2 separate regions of the Homo sapiens genome follow, and region 2 is linked to region 1. The links are contacts of gene promoters, found by promoter capture Hi-C in human tissues and cell types (Jung and others, 2019). All regions are on one chromosome and are shown on one strand. Each heading gives the region's core, a stretch centred on a gene start or on the middle of the fragment in contact. The rest is flanking DNA. Distances are from core to core; before and after follow the strand shown.

Region 1 (6,892 bases), core at 3,681-6,180:
GGGCTGGTCTGCCCCATCTCCATCTGACCCGCCCAGCTTGCCCAGTGATGCATCACACCGCAATAGTGGGACATTTTTTTTCTAACAATGGTTCTACTCCCCTGGTGTAAAAGCAAATAAACGGGAATGGGGTATAACTTGATACTAAATTCTGTGAAAATAATCCATTTGCACTGCACATAGTTAATGTGTGGTGCTAACTTGCTACTCTTCATCCAAGCAGACAGAAGCAGTTGTGCCCTCATATATAGAGGTGCCAGGCAGTCGGGGACATGATGAGGAAGTGTTTCTGAAATCTCTTGTCAAAAGCATTCAACAGGAATGCTAAGAATAATGGCAATGAAACACCACCACACCAAGTAAACAATCGCATTAACTTCATTTTGCAGATGAGGAAATTGAAGCTCAGTGTGATTAAATGACTTACACAAGGGCACGGCTGCTAAGACATGAAAGAGCTTGGAACTGGACCCAAGTTCTTCCTTCTCTCACAGAAAGATATGCTTGCTGAAAGCTCTGCAGATTTGAAGATTGTGTTCTATATGTTAGTATGAGGCCTGGACCCTAATATATATATATATATATATATATATATATATACACATACATATATATATATATATACACACACACATATATACACATATACACATATATACATATATCTCATACACATGTATATACATATATCTCATACACATATGTATATACATATATCTCATACACATATGTATATACATATATCTCATACACATATGTATATACATATATCTCATACACATATGTATATACATATATCTCATACACATATGTATATACATATATCTCATACACATATGTATATACATATATCTCATACACATATGTATATACATATATCTCATATACATATGTATATACATATATCTCATATACATATGTATATACATATATCTCATATACATATGTATATCTGTAATATATATACTACATTAGTTACATATTAGTAATATATACAATATACTAATATAATTAGTAATAATATACATTAGTTATATACATTAATACATAATATATTAGGGTCATATGGGGCTGGCCCATATGACCAGCCCTACTGTGCTGATATATATACACATATATATATATATACACACACACACATATATATACACACACATATATATACACACATACACACATATTACGTATATGTGTGTGTGTGTGTGTGTACATATACACACACACACACACACACATATGGTTTTCACTTTAAAAGTCTCCTTCACATCCGTTCTCTTGCTCCACTCTGTTTACAACTTTGTGGGGTCCAGTGGGAAGACAGCCGGCCCAAGATCATGTTTTTGGTCCATGGCAGAGTCAGGACATAAACCCACACATCCAACTATTGCCCACTCCCTTTTTCCCATTCCATACTAATGCCCTGGATGAGAACTCAGTGGGCTCTAACCAACCCTCTGCTCTACGCCTGCCCTCCATGGCACCAACCTCTATGTATTGTTTAAGTTAGAACCAGAACTTACCAAGGCTACTCAAGGCCCAGAGCAGAGGACACAGCAAAAAATCAAACCAACTCCCTGCCTGCCAGGAGCTCGCAGTTTTAAATGGAATGCCATTTGTGGTTTTGTGGCCACCTACTATCCATTCCAGTCAGGCTCCCCAAACACATAAAAGAACTGAGAGCACGCATCACAGCATCCCTCTCCCATGATGCCTGGAACTGTCCTGGATCCTGAACTGTTTGAGCTAAATTCCAGCCTTTTCATCTGTCCCCTGGGCAACCTTCGATTCCATTTATATGAAATCTCCAAAATAGGTAAATCCGTATGGACAAAATGCAGATTCATTGTGACCCAGGGCCGATTGAAGAGGGAAAGCTGAGAGTAATAGGGTCTCCTTTGGAGCTAAAACTGCTTTAGAACTAGGTAGAGGTGATGATTGTAAGCCATTGTGAATGTACCGAATGCTGCGGAACTGTACACTTTGAAATAGTTATGTTACATGAATTTCACTTCAATAAAAATTTTAACAAACTAGGATACGAGACAGATTATGGTAAGTGTATAGCAGAAGAATAAACGCAGTGCCAGGAAGCCTGGAGAGATTGGCTTTCACTCCCAGTTTCACTCCCACAGTCTCCCGCTATCCCCCACCATGCCTGGCAGTCCCCACAGTCACCTCTGCTCAAGCTGCTTCCTCCTCCCAGAATGGGCTTCTTTCTTTGTTCTGCTGAGAGCCCATCCCCAAGGCTTAGACAAAATGAGAAGGGCCTGTGAAGACACCCTTGGTAATAAAGGGACAGAAGATACCCTTCGGTCCCCTGTTCTATTCACATTCCTGAAATGGGAACACCTCCTCCATTGGCCCTCTGTCCCAATCCCCATCATAGACCACCACACTCAGAAACACAGTGTGATGGACTCTTTTGTGGCAATGAATCTAAGTTTCACATTTGAGTTGACATGCTACACAGCAGAGATCCGAGATGAAGCTGTGACAGCCCAGAAGGAAAGTGACTGTGACTGCAACCACATAATCTCCCAGAACACGCAGACATCTGGGTGTGCACTGTGGGAGGAGCCTTGGATTTCCCCAGAGCTTGGAATGATCTAGAGGGTATCAACACCCTACTGGGGAAAGGAGTAATAAAATGCAGGTAATATTTTTTTCTCATCCTCTCAGTGTTGTCATAAGGATAAAATGCAATAACTTCCTCGAAACAGCTCAGAAAAGCCTAGATCATTTACAAACATAAGGCATTGTTTATGTTATAATTGCCGTGGCATCATGTTGGAGCCGTAACTGTCCTGAGAAACCATCTCACCAGACGTCTTTTCATTTTATAGATGAAGAGACTCAGGACTGACAGGAGCCTGCCAGAAGTCACACAGGCCTTTACTGAAGGGCCAGCACTCAGACGTAAACTTTCTAATCACGGTCCCTGATGCTTCCCTGAGAGCCAGGCCCACAGAAGCCCTGCATCCTTTGCTCCTCAGAGGTGCACCTTCTGCTGCCCTGTCCAGGCTCTGTGGAGTTGCAGGAGACTGGCAGCTCTGCAGAGTCCCTGGGTAGCATCACTGTGGCTTCATCAAGGCCGCGATGTTGTTCCTTCTTACATCGTTCTCAGTGAAAACCAGCCTCTGTGCTTGACACTGTTGGGTTGTCTGCAGCTTTCTGGCCTTTTCCTCCTCCAGGTCTTCATCATAGCCATGAGCATGTCACCTGCATACGTGCAACTTGGATAGGTTCTCTCAAAATATGTTACTCCACGCTTGCCCGTGGTGAGGCGTACCTACCCCTTTTTCTCTACTCATCCACCCTTGTAAAATCTCCCCTGATTAATACAATACCCCAGGAAAAAAGTAACAATTTTTCAACAGCCTTGGGTCCAAATCATCATCTGTATCATTTCCTCATTAAGACCTTTCTAAGAACTGTTGAATAAAAATGATTTCTTCTATTTTAGGCCGGGTACGGTGGCTCACGCCTATAATCCCAGCACTTTGGGAGGCTGAGGTGGGTGGATCGTTTGAGGTCAGAAGTTTGAGACCATCCTGGCCGTCATGGTGAAACCCCGTCTTCTCTAAAAATACAGAAATTAGCCGGGTGTGATGGCAAGCACCTGTAATCCCAGCTATTCTGGAGCCTGAGGCACGAGACTCACTTGAACCTGGGAGGTGGCGGCTGCAGTGAGCCAAGATTGTACCACTGCACTCCAGCCTGGGCTATAGAGTGAGACTGTCTCAAAAAAAGATTTCGTCTATTTTAAAGTCTGAGGGTGGGCACAGTGGCTCACGCACGTAATCCGAGCACTTTGGAAGGCTGAGGCAGGAGGATCGCTTGAGCCCAGGAGTTTGAGACCAACCTGAGCAACATAGCGAGGCCCCGTCTCTACAAAAATAAGAATAAAATTGATCTGATAGGTAGCTAAATAGACACATAGAATACATCTATATCTAATACATATTTCATATATGATATATGATATATAACCTTAGGGATGATTACATTTGCCTCAAAATCCATCTCCAAAAATTACAATGTGGGATTCTGGACTGGCTCCTAGAACAGAAAAAGACATTCGTGGAAAAACTTGTGAAATCCAAATAAAGCGTGGAGCTTAGTTAATAGTAATGCTGCATTTTCAGTTTCTTCATTTTCATAAATGTACCATGGTAATATAAGATGTTACCATTAGGGAAAACTGAGTGAGAAATTTAAGAGAACTCAATTATCTTTGCAACTTTTCTGTAAAATAAAAATTTATGTTTTAAAAGTCTAACAATCTTGTGAGAGGCCCCACATTTTCTATGAGTTCCTGAGGCAACTTCCTCATGCTTTTTGTCTCTATAATCCCCCAAAATTTTACCAGTCTCTCTTCTTTCTCCTCCCTCTGTCTCTGTCAAACACACACACACACACACACACACACACACACACACACACACGCATGCTCACAACATGGAGTTCAAGCAACAAGGTCAACCTGGCTACAGCGACCACTGAGTACCCAATCTGCCAACAGCAGAGACCAATGCTGAGTCCCCAATATATGGCACCATTCCCTGGGGTGACCAGCCAGCTACCTGGAGGCAGGTTGATTACATTGGACTGCTTCCATTGTGGAAGGGAGGGGAAGCATTTTGTCCTTACTGGAATACACATTTGCTCTGGATATGAACTTGCCTTCCCTGCACACAATGCTTCTGTAGAATCTATTATCTATGGACTTACAAAATGCCTTGTCCACCTTCACGATGGTCCACACAGCATTGCTCTGATCAAGGGACTCACTTCACAGCAAATGAAGCGCAGCAGTGGGTTCGTGCTCGTGGAATTCACTGGTCTCACGGTGTTCCCAACCGTTCTAAAGCAGCTGGCTTGACGGAATGGTGGAATGGCCTTTTGAAGTCAGTTACAGGCAACCTCACCAACTAGGTGACAGTACTTTACAGAAGTGGGGCAAGATTCCACAGAAAGCTGTGTATTCTTTGAATCAGCATCCAGTCAGGTGCTAGTCAGGACTCATGGGTCCAGAGATCAAGGGGTAAAAATGGGATGGCACCACTTGCTATTACCCCTAATGACTCACTAGCAAAATTTTTGCCTCTTGTTCCTTTATTATCCTGTTAGCCTAGAGATCTTAGTTCCAAAAAAGAATGCTTCCACTAGCAGATACAACAGTGATTCCATTGCACTGAAAGTTAAGGCCACAGCCAGCCACTTTGGGCTCCTCATACCTCTGAATTGACAGGCAAAGTTTTGGTGTTGTCTAGGGCGACTGATCCTGACTACCAAGGGGAAAATGTGCTACTATTCCACAATGGAGGCAAGAAAGAATATGTCTGGAATACAGGAGATCCCTTAGGGCATCTCTTAGTATTACCATACCCTGTGATTAAAATTTGTGATTAAATTCATGGAAAACTACAATAATCCAATTCACGCAGGACTACTAATGGCCCAGACCCTTCAGGAATGAAGGTTTGGGTCATCCTACCAGGTAAAGAACCTCAACCAGCTGAAAGGTTTGCCAAGTACAAAGGGAATTCAGAATGGGTAGCAGAAGGTAGTTCTAAGTATCAGGTACAACCATGTGCCCAGTTACAGAAATGAGGACTGTTATTGTCATGAGTTTATTTTGTGGTGAACATATTTGTGTACATATATGTACATTGCCTCACACAGAACATTTCGTGACTCTAGAAATTCCCTGGAGATTTGGTGGAGGTTCCAGCGCCCAGTAGACCTACAGCCATCACCATTCCCTCTCCCCTCCTGCTCCCCCGGGGAAATGATCGACATTTCTTGCACTTTCTTATTAAGAATTGTTATGCAAAAACACAAGTTCCCCAAACCTTTTCTTCTAGCACACACTTCCTGGGGGTACTTTAGCAAACAGAAGAATTCCAGGGCCAGTTGAGAACACAAGTATGTTCATAGCGGCTATATTCATAATACGCAAAAGTTGAAAACAACCTAAATATCCAACAGCCATAAAAAGGATAACTAAATTTCAGTATATTTTCACAATGGAATATCACACAGAAACAAAAAAAAACTATGACCATGAGCAACAACATGAACTAGTCTCACAAACTGATGAGGGAAGGAACCAGACACAAGAGTACAAATTGTATCATTCCACATATATGAAACTCAAAGATACACAAAAGGTGATAAAAGTCAAAATAATGGTTGCCTCGGCTGGGCACGGTGGCTCACACCTGTAATACCAGCACTTTGGGAGGCTGAGTTAGATCATGAGGTCAGGAGTTCAAGACCAGCCTGGCCAAGATGGTGAAACCCCATCTCTACTAAAAATACAAAAATTAGCCAGCCATGATGGCAGGCACCTGTAATCCCAGCTGCTCAGGAGACAGAGGCAGAGAGCTGCTTGAACCTGGGAGGCAGAGGTTGCAGTGAGCCGAGATCATGCCACTGCTCTCCAGCCTGGGCAACAGAGCAAGACTCCGTCTCAGAAAAAATAAAAAAACGAAGAATGGTTACCTCTGAGGAGGGACATTAATTAGGAAGAAGCACAAGAGTTTCCTGAGGCTACTGGAAATGTTCATTTCAGACATGTGTAAGCACATACATACACACACACACACACACACACACACACACACATTGTATATGATTCTTCCAATTTCGTGAGGACATCTGAGAAAGGGAAGGGTTGAGGGGCTATTTCATAAATATAGCCCAGCTGGAGCAATGATTTTGCGGGGAAGGGGAACATAGACTCACTAACTAGCCAGGATCCTTTTAGACTATTCTCTCTGTAACTTCTCATTAAAAACACATTTTATCTCAGAATAAATTTCAGTTTATTTCATCCTTTTTCTTGGTGTTTGAAATGGATTGAGAGATCTCAGCAGGTACAAGTTAA
Region 2 (7,134 bases), core at 397-2,896, 300 kb before region 1:
GTCCTAGTTCCTGTAATATTTGGCTGTGACACTGACCTTCAGTTTGCTCAACCAAGAAATAGATTTAATAAAACATATTTTGCTCCCTCCTTAAAGTGGTTCATTCGATCTATAGGTTAGAGCCGTGTTAGTTACAAGGGATACAGCTGTGAATGAAACTGAGTCTGCCCCATGGAACATAGATCAGTTGGTAAGCTATGGATTTGATTTTCCTGGGATAAATGTTACAGTGTGGGTGAGAAGTGAGAAATAGATACTGTTATTCACCTCAGACAGGAGCCTGAATAAATGGCTTTATTTTCTATCCTCCTCTTCTTTTTATATTAAATTGAACTCAGAGAATAAAAAAGCATCTAGACCACCCATTTGCCCACTATGCTTCCTGAATACAGAGAGATAGCAGAGATGGGAACTGTGAGGTCTCTCTAAGGGACAGCCATATGTATTTTGCAAAGTGTTCTCTGGGCTTTAGGAGATAACGTTGGTTGGAGGATGCTGGTGGCAGCTGCTGGGAACTGAAAAGGATTGAGAGTATATAATGATACTCCCAAAATGATGGGTTGAGCATGGGATAAATGGCATTATTTCAAAAGCACATAGAAATAATAACTATATTACTAAATATTTAACAGCCTTCTAAAATAATATAGGGGCATCTCTATAGGCTAGAAACAGAGAAAGAAAACAGTAAACCATCAGCAGTGTGTATATTAGGGACAGACACTTAAATGAATATATTTAATAGTCTATATGAGATAAAAGAATGAATAAAATTCATTGATTTTTGAACAAGGACAGTGATTATGAAGGAAGAACAAGCAGTTAATTTGTTATTTTAACAAGTGCAACATTCTGAAGATTATAGAAGAGTAAATCTGTAAACTCTAAGGTTAATTATTAAAAGATAAAGAGGTAGAAAAGTTGAAAGTAAAGATAAGTAGAGGGGACAGAGCAAGAAGATACAACATAGGGGTTAAAAAAGATAAAATAAGGTGCTGGAAAATGACATGTGAAAATTTACTGCCTGAGATATTCCCAGAACTGAGGAAAGACTTGAGCTCTCAGAACAAAAAAAAAGATCTACAAAATGGAATTCAAAACAAAACAAAACAAAATCAAACCTGGGCACAATGTAGCACTGCTTCAGAATAAGCTCCGAAAGGGAAACCTAACAGCTACCATAGAGGAAAAGCAGATTACCTCCAAAGGGGTACAATCAGTGCCATCAACTTCTCAGGAGCCACATCAGATGCCATGAGACAATAAAGAACCAGCCTCAAAGTGCTGAAGATATGTATCTTTGAAGCTGAAATTCCATATCTAGCCAAGTCTGTGTTTTAACAAGCCTTCTAGGAGATCCTGAGGCATGCTGAAGTTTGAGAACCACTAGGCTGCAGCATGCTCTCCACAGACATCTAAGGGAGGACTTTTCCATTCTCAATGACTCACTACTAACTCCTTTGCTCCTGCAAATGCCTGGAACTTGGCTTGCCAAATTCTGCTCACTTTTGCCAACACCTGGAGTGGGTGGCATAACAGGGATATATCTTAACCTAAACGAGTGAAATCACAAGGGGGTTGAGTTTCAGACATTCGTAAGGTAGGTTGGAGTGGGACAAGGAGGGGCTGAGATAAGAGGCGTTATTTGGGGATCCAGATGGCTTTCCAGCAGCCACCTACATTATATGGGATGTCGCTTACTTGGGAAACAGACTTGGTCTGTGGGGAAGTGAGTCATCCTCATCTTCCCTCAGCCTCAGTACTCTAGAAGTGGAGGCTTCTCTGGCTGAGCGTGTGTCTGTGTGTTTAATGATTTCTTTGCACCAAGCCAGAGGTTGAAAGAAAGTTTGCAATAAATGTATATAAAGGGCGTGAGACCTACTTGCTTGGTTTTCAAAAGGTTTATTTTCATTCTTTCTGGGAGATGCCCTGAAGAAACTCTTTAGAGATCTTTCCTGCCAGCTAGTTCAGGTATTTACTGTCTGGCTTTTCTAGCTCTGAGTCCAGTTTTCTGCCTGAAGGACTTTTGTCATTTTTGAAGTGTTTATTTTTCCCTTTGGGTAAAAGTGAAGAAAAAATGTGACTTTCTATCAGTTAGCAGTGGAGAAGTGGTTTGAAGCTTTGCTTTTCAAACACAGTGGTGATCAGAGTTGTCTCATAGGGACCCAGAGCCCGGAACTAAGAGGAGTGGGTGGAAGATGGTCTGGAAGCCTGCAGCATCACTGTGTACTGTGCCTTGGGCTCAGTCCGAGGTTAGATTGTCTTACTCATCTGACAAAGAAATGCGTTTTGGATGCAGGGACGAATGAATAAGTGTTCTTATTTTCTGGTTGATTTGGTTTCTGTTTCCTGGCACCTAAGGCAAAATGATCAGTCCCTTGATAAATACTTTAAAATCTTTGTATAGCATCCTATAGCATGCAGAGCGCTTCTATGCTCACTGTTTTTGACTGAGCCTCCCAGGGGCACTCTGAAACTTGGATAAAAAGTGTCACCCAGTTCCGCCTTTGGGACAAAGAAGCTGAATCTTGGGAATGTTTAAAAGTATACATTCAGGAAGGTGCTGAATCTGGACCAAGAGTCTGTCTCTTTAGATTTTCTCCTCACTTAGGCAGGTAATGGAGCAAATTCATCTACCTTCCATTCAGGGCAGGGGAAGGAGAGAGTTTACTAGAAAACCATCACCATGAGAGTGATAAGGTCCTTGCTGCTATGGAGAGAATGAATTATCTGGTCCCTGCTTGGCCCCTTGTGTCATTACCAACTGGTAACAACCTGGAGGCAAGGGGAATAAAGAATTTGTCATCTCAGTCTCCAACATTAATTCCTTGAAAGGGGTCTGAATACAATAGAGAAAATTGTATTTTCAGCCATGCTTGCTCAAAAAGTAACGCTATTTAAATCAAGGGCATAACATTAAATCACAATTACAATTCGATGAAAGTACCTGGAGAGGAAAAGGATAATGTAGTGTGGGTTTGGGGTGAATCAAGATTAAATAGTCACTGTTGATTATGATAAAGAAGGAGAGAGTAGTGAAATAGTTACTTCTGGAAAATTGCGATGCTACCACTGGGTATCCAAAGGCTACACAGGGTAAATTTGGAATCCGTTTTTCATTTTCCTTACTAGTTGTTCTGCACTGGTTAATAAATATAACTTTGCCTCTCACCCCCATCTGGGGTACAGGAGAAAGTGATCAAAGGATCACATTTTAAAAATGGGTTTTATTATTTAAATGACTGGTCTTCTCTTTTTATTACTATTGTTTGAAAACAGCTGAGATCTTTTTTTTCTGATTACCATGCTACAGATGTTTATTGCAGAAAGTTTGGAAAAAACAGAAAAGCATAAAGAATGTAAAAATCACCTGTAGTTCTACCACGCGAACAGCAGTAATATTAAGGTGGTATTGTATTTACATCTAAAATTTCATCCCCACACCCATACACAATCCGCTAATTATCCCAGTTCTCATCAGCCTAGGGTGGCTACTAAAGCCACATTAGGGAGAAGTCTTTCTTTTCTTCTCTTTATACCCTGTCCTCTCTTTGGAGGGACACATTGCCAAGGCTTAAGGAAGGTGGTGAACAGTGCATCCTGATTTGCTAGGGACTTTCTGGTTTTAGCATGAAAAACTCTACATCTTGGGAACACCTCAGTTCTAGGCAAACTGGGATGGCAAGTTTACCTCTAACTCCTCCTCCCACCGCATCAGCAGAAAGCAAGACTGATTCGGTCCTGGAGAGCTGGTGGGAGGCTGGCACTTGGCGGCCATGTTGCTCTGTTGAACAAGGCTAATGTGCTAAGGTCACTGCTCATTCTTCTCAGGGCTCTTGCTTCCTGTTGGGTCTGTGCCCAGGCACAGTGAGTCTCCTGAGCTCACCATTCCCTGCCTGCCTCAGCAGCACCTAAAGCAAAAAGGCAAAGCAGTGGATTGGTTAATAAGTTAGTCCTGCTATGCTGGTCCATCTACCTTCCATTCAGGGCAGGAGAGGGAGACAGTTGACTAGAAAACCATGACCTTGAGAATGATAGGGTCTTTGCTGATATTGAGAAAATAAATTCTCTGGTCCCTGTTTGGCTCATCAAGCCTGTTGCCAGCTGATTACAACCTGGAGGCGAGGGGGAATGGGTATTTGTCGTCCCATCTCCAACATGCAAGTGCCTTGATGCGCAGATCCCTTTAAAGCAATGAGAAAACTAAGGGTTTTTGATGTGGATGCTAGGTTGAGTTCTAGTGTAATATAGCTCATTGTAGTATTATCAGACATGAGCTGAATGCTTTGTATATTGTGAATTGAAACATATGAGAGAAATTTTTATTTGCTGGGGAGACTGATTAGAAAATCAGTGAATTTGGGTAGTAATGGCTTGTGATTCTTGCAACAAGCTGGTGGATTTCCTAAGGGCAGGGTATGACTTGAGTTGGTGGCTCTGGCTCAGTGAAGGCTGAATCAAGGTCAAACAAAGATGAGGCCTCTCACTGGAACCAGCTTTGGCAGTCATGGAGCAGGTGTGCTAGTGTACTATCTTCCCTCTGCTCGCTTTTGCCTCTGTAGCTCCACCATCCTCCCTTTTCCCACACTTTATCTAGACACCCGGCACCAGCCCTTGAGGAACTCTTCAAGCCCTAACCATGCTTCCCATCAAAACTGACCGTCCTGAGGTCCCTTCCCTCAGGGGGTGGTACAAACAGCAATGACGAATCGAGCCTGCCCATCTGGGTGAATTTAGTGTCTTGGCAGCTCCTTCTGCCTATGCCCAAGGTCCCCACCCTCCTCTAAGAGCCTGGCACTGATACTTTCTGAATAGGAGTTTTACTGCGTTCTGACTCCCATCTTCACTTTGTCTCTTCTTCCTCTTTCTGATTTTCCCACGTTCTATCCTGTCTCCTTCTCTGCCTGGGAACTTCAGAGTCAAGGTTGAGTTGGATGGTCTTCCTGACTGGTTTTGGTCTCTACCCAAATTTCTATGAGTTTTATTTTTTATTTATTTATTTTTTTAAACTACCCCACATCTCTTGATTCCTGCCCAATCTTCAAGCGTTCTAAACCACCAAGGCCAACAGCACCTGAGAAACCAGCAGAAGCCCATCTCTGGCAGCCGTACCAGCCGGCCCATACTCAGAGCAGAGAGCAAGGAATTTGCTTGGTTCCCAAGACAACCATCACAGATCTAGAGGGGGAAGCTGTTCAGTGACAGAGCAATGGGTTTCTCTACTGATTCCTTTCACTGGGGTTCTTGTGGCTTAAGAGATGGGCCCCAAAGGGAGGTTAGATATGGAGCCAGCATATTAGATCACACAATGACTGGAATTTGTTCTGTCTCTCTGCAACACAGAAAGCAGTTTCACAGCCATAATCTCTATGCTCACACCAAAGGCCTATGGGAGGGACAGCCATGGGCAGGAGGCTGATGCAGGCAAAAGAGCATCAGCTGTGAAGCCTGGCTGTTCAGGCTTCAAATTCTGACCCAGTGAGTCACTAGCAGAGTAACCTTGGACAGCTACTAAACCTCTCATCTAAATTGAGGAAAATGCCTTTCTCACAGGGTTAGGAAGATTAAATTATGTAATGCATTAATACACTCATCAGGGTATGTGGCCTATTAAATAATAGGTGTTACTACTGTGTCTTTTTTTAAAGTTTATTGTGGGATCAGAATATTGACAGAGCTGTATCGTTAAGAGCAGTATTCCCCTTGCTAAAACTAATAGGCAGCCCAAGCCTGGCTCCATCCAACCACCTCTTCCAATGCTCTTTAACTGGTGGTGCTTTATGACACCAAGCAATAGATGATGATTATTGTTTCCACTGAATACAGTAAGTTCCTTGATTGGTTTAACATACATAGACTGCCTGAGAGAATAAAAACATCACCATATAATAGGTTAATGGTGAATTAAGGTCTTCGTAGTTGTGGCGGGAGAAAAGGGTTGGCTGCTGGAAACAGTATGGTACCCTGGAGGCTGCATATGTACACACTTAAGAATTCACATCACCTTTAGCAGAAGATTAGAATTCAATGGATATGAATGCTTATGCAGAATCTTCTCTCCCCCCGACATAAATTTCACAAGGAATCTCCTCCATTACTTGATCTTCTAGGGGCTGTTCAGGGCACTTGTGTCCCCGTTTGAAAGTGTAACTACTTTTCTTGAAGGTGCTATTAAATGTTTTCATTGGCTGTGGTTGTGCAAAGTCATTTTGGAAAGGAAGCTCCGTGGAACTGAGGTTGGTCCTGCTTTGTTTGACGCTGGAGGTCAGCGACCCACAGTGGTGGTCATGGATGCACTGGGAGGTGGTGGAGGAGTGCCGCGTCTTCTAGTGGTTGTTCAGTTCTTCTGACAAGTCTGCCAGATCTGCAGAAATGTCTTTGTCCCTTAGCGAAAACAGTTCATAATAAGGAGGATCAAACATTTCTTGGAACCCGGTTTTATGAAAAGCAGTTTTGCAAGCCATGACCTTTTCTTGAGGCTGTTTCACTTGTACTAAAACAGAAATAATGAGAAAGACCAAGACAATCTCTGAAGTAATGCCAATAACTGTCCCATGAGTTTCAGTGATTTGTTCAGATAGTCCTGCCTTTTCTCTTTTCTTTACAATGATTTTCATCCCAAGGGTATACACAATTTTGGACACCATTACAGACTAAAGGATTATTGATGCACATGTTGCTATGGCAAAAGACAGTGCTGCCTGTGCAGGGAGCTGATGATCCAGCAATTTTACTTTTAGCTATATACTCCAAAGAATGGAAAGCAGGAATTCAGTTACTTGCACACCAAAGTTCACAGCAGCATTACGCACAATAGCCAGAAGGTGGGAACAGACAAAATGCCTTTTGATGGGTGGGTGGATAAACAGTATGTGTTATGCTCAACAAAGGAAGTAAAGAGAATTTGAGCTAAGCCGACTACCTTCATCTGCCCACATTTGTATCACGCCTATTCCTGTTTTAAGCATTCCATCATTGGCCACAGTGCTGCGAAACTTGGCCTTCAGGTTTTCAATAGAACTGCTTTCATCGTAGACTGCAACAATGTCTCTCTTGGATTCATTTGAGTGCTCCATTGGATAATCTAGGAACCTCAAATCCTAGCTTTTGGAGTGGCTTTCATGGTCCAGATGC

What was found. Contacts are between HindIII fragments. The study calls those that stand out against the background at their distance.
Region 2: a fragment that was not itself captured here is called in contact with the fragment with the promoter of FER1L6 in region 1 in 1 of the 25 tissues and cell types used here (dorsolateral prefrontal cortex).

The regions. Positions count from the first base shown.
Region 1 is chr8:123,850,025-123,856,916 of GRCh38, reverse strand. It overlaps FER1L6 (fer-1 like family member 6), which reads right to left and starts at 4,930. Exons shown (of 41, transcript NM_001039112.2): 1 at 4,732-4,930. LOC124902014 (a long non-coding RNA gene) reads left to right here. Exons shown (of 2, transcript XR_007061085.1): 2 at 1-142. RefSeq lists a silencer at 5,218-5,366. The HindIII fragment of the contact is 12,305 bases long and covers 1-6,892 here.
Region 2 is chr8:124,142,396-124,149,529 of GRCh38, reverse strand. All of the region lies in intron 1 of FER1L6-AS2 (FER1L6 antisense RNA 2), which reads left to right. It also overlaps the pseudogene LOC392268. Among named protein-coding and RNA genes, the nearest start is that of FER1L6-AS2, 26 kb to the left of the region's middle. The HindIII fragment of the contact is 6,836 bases long and covers 1-5,064 here.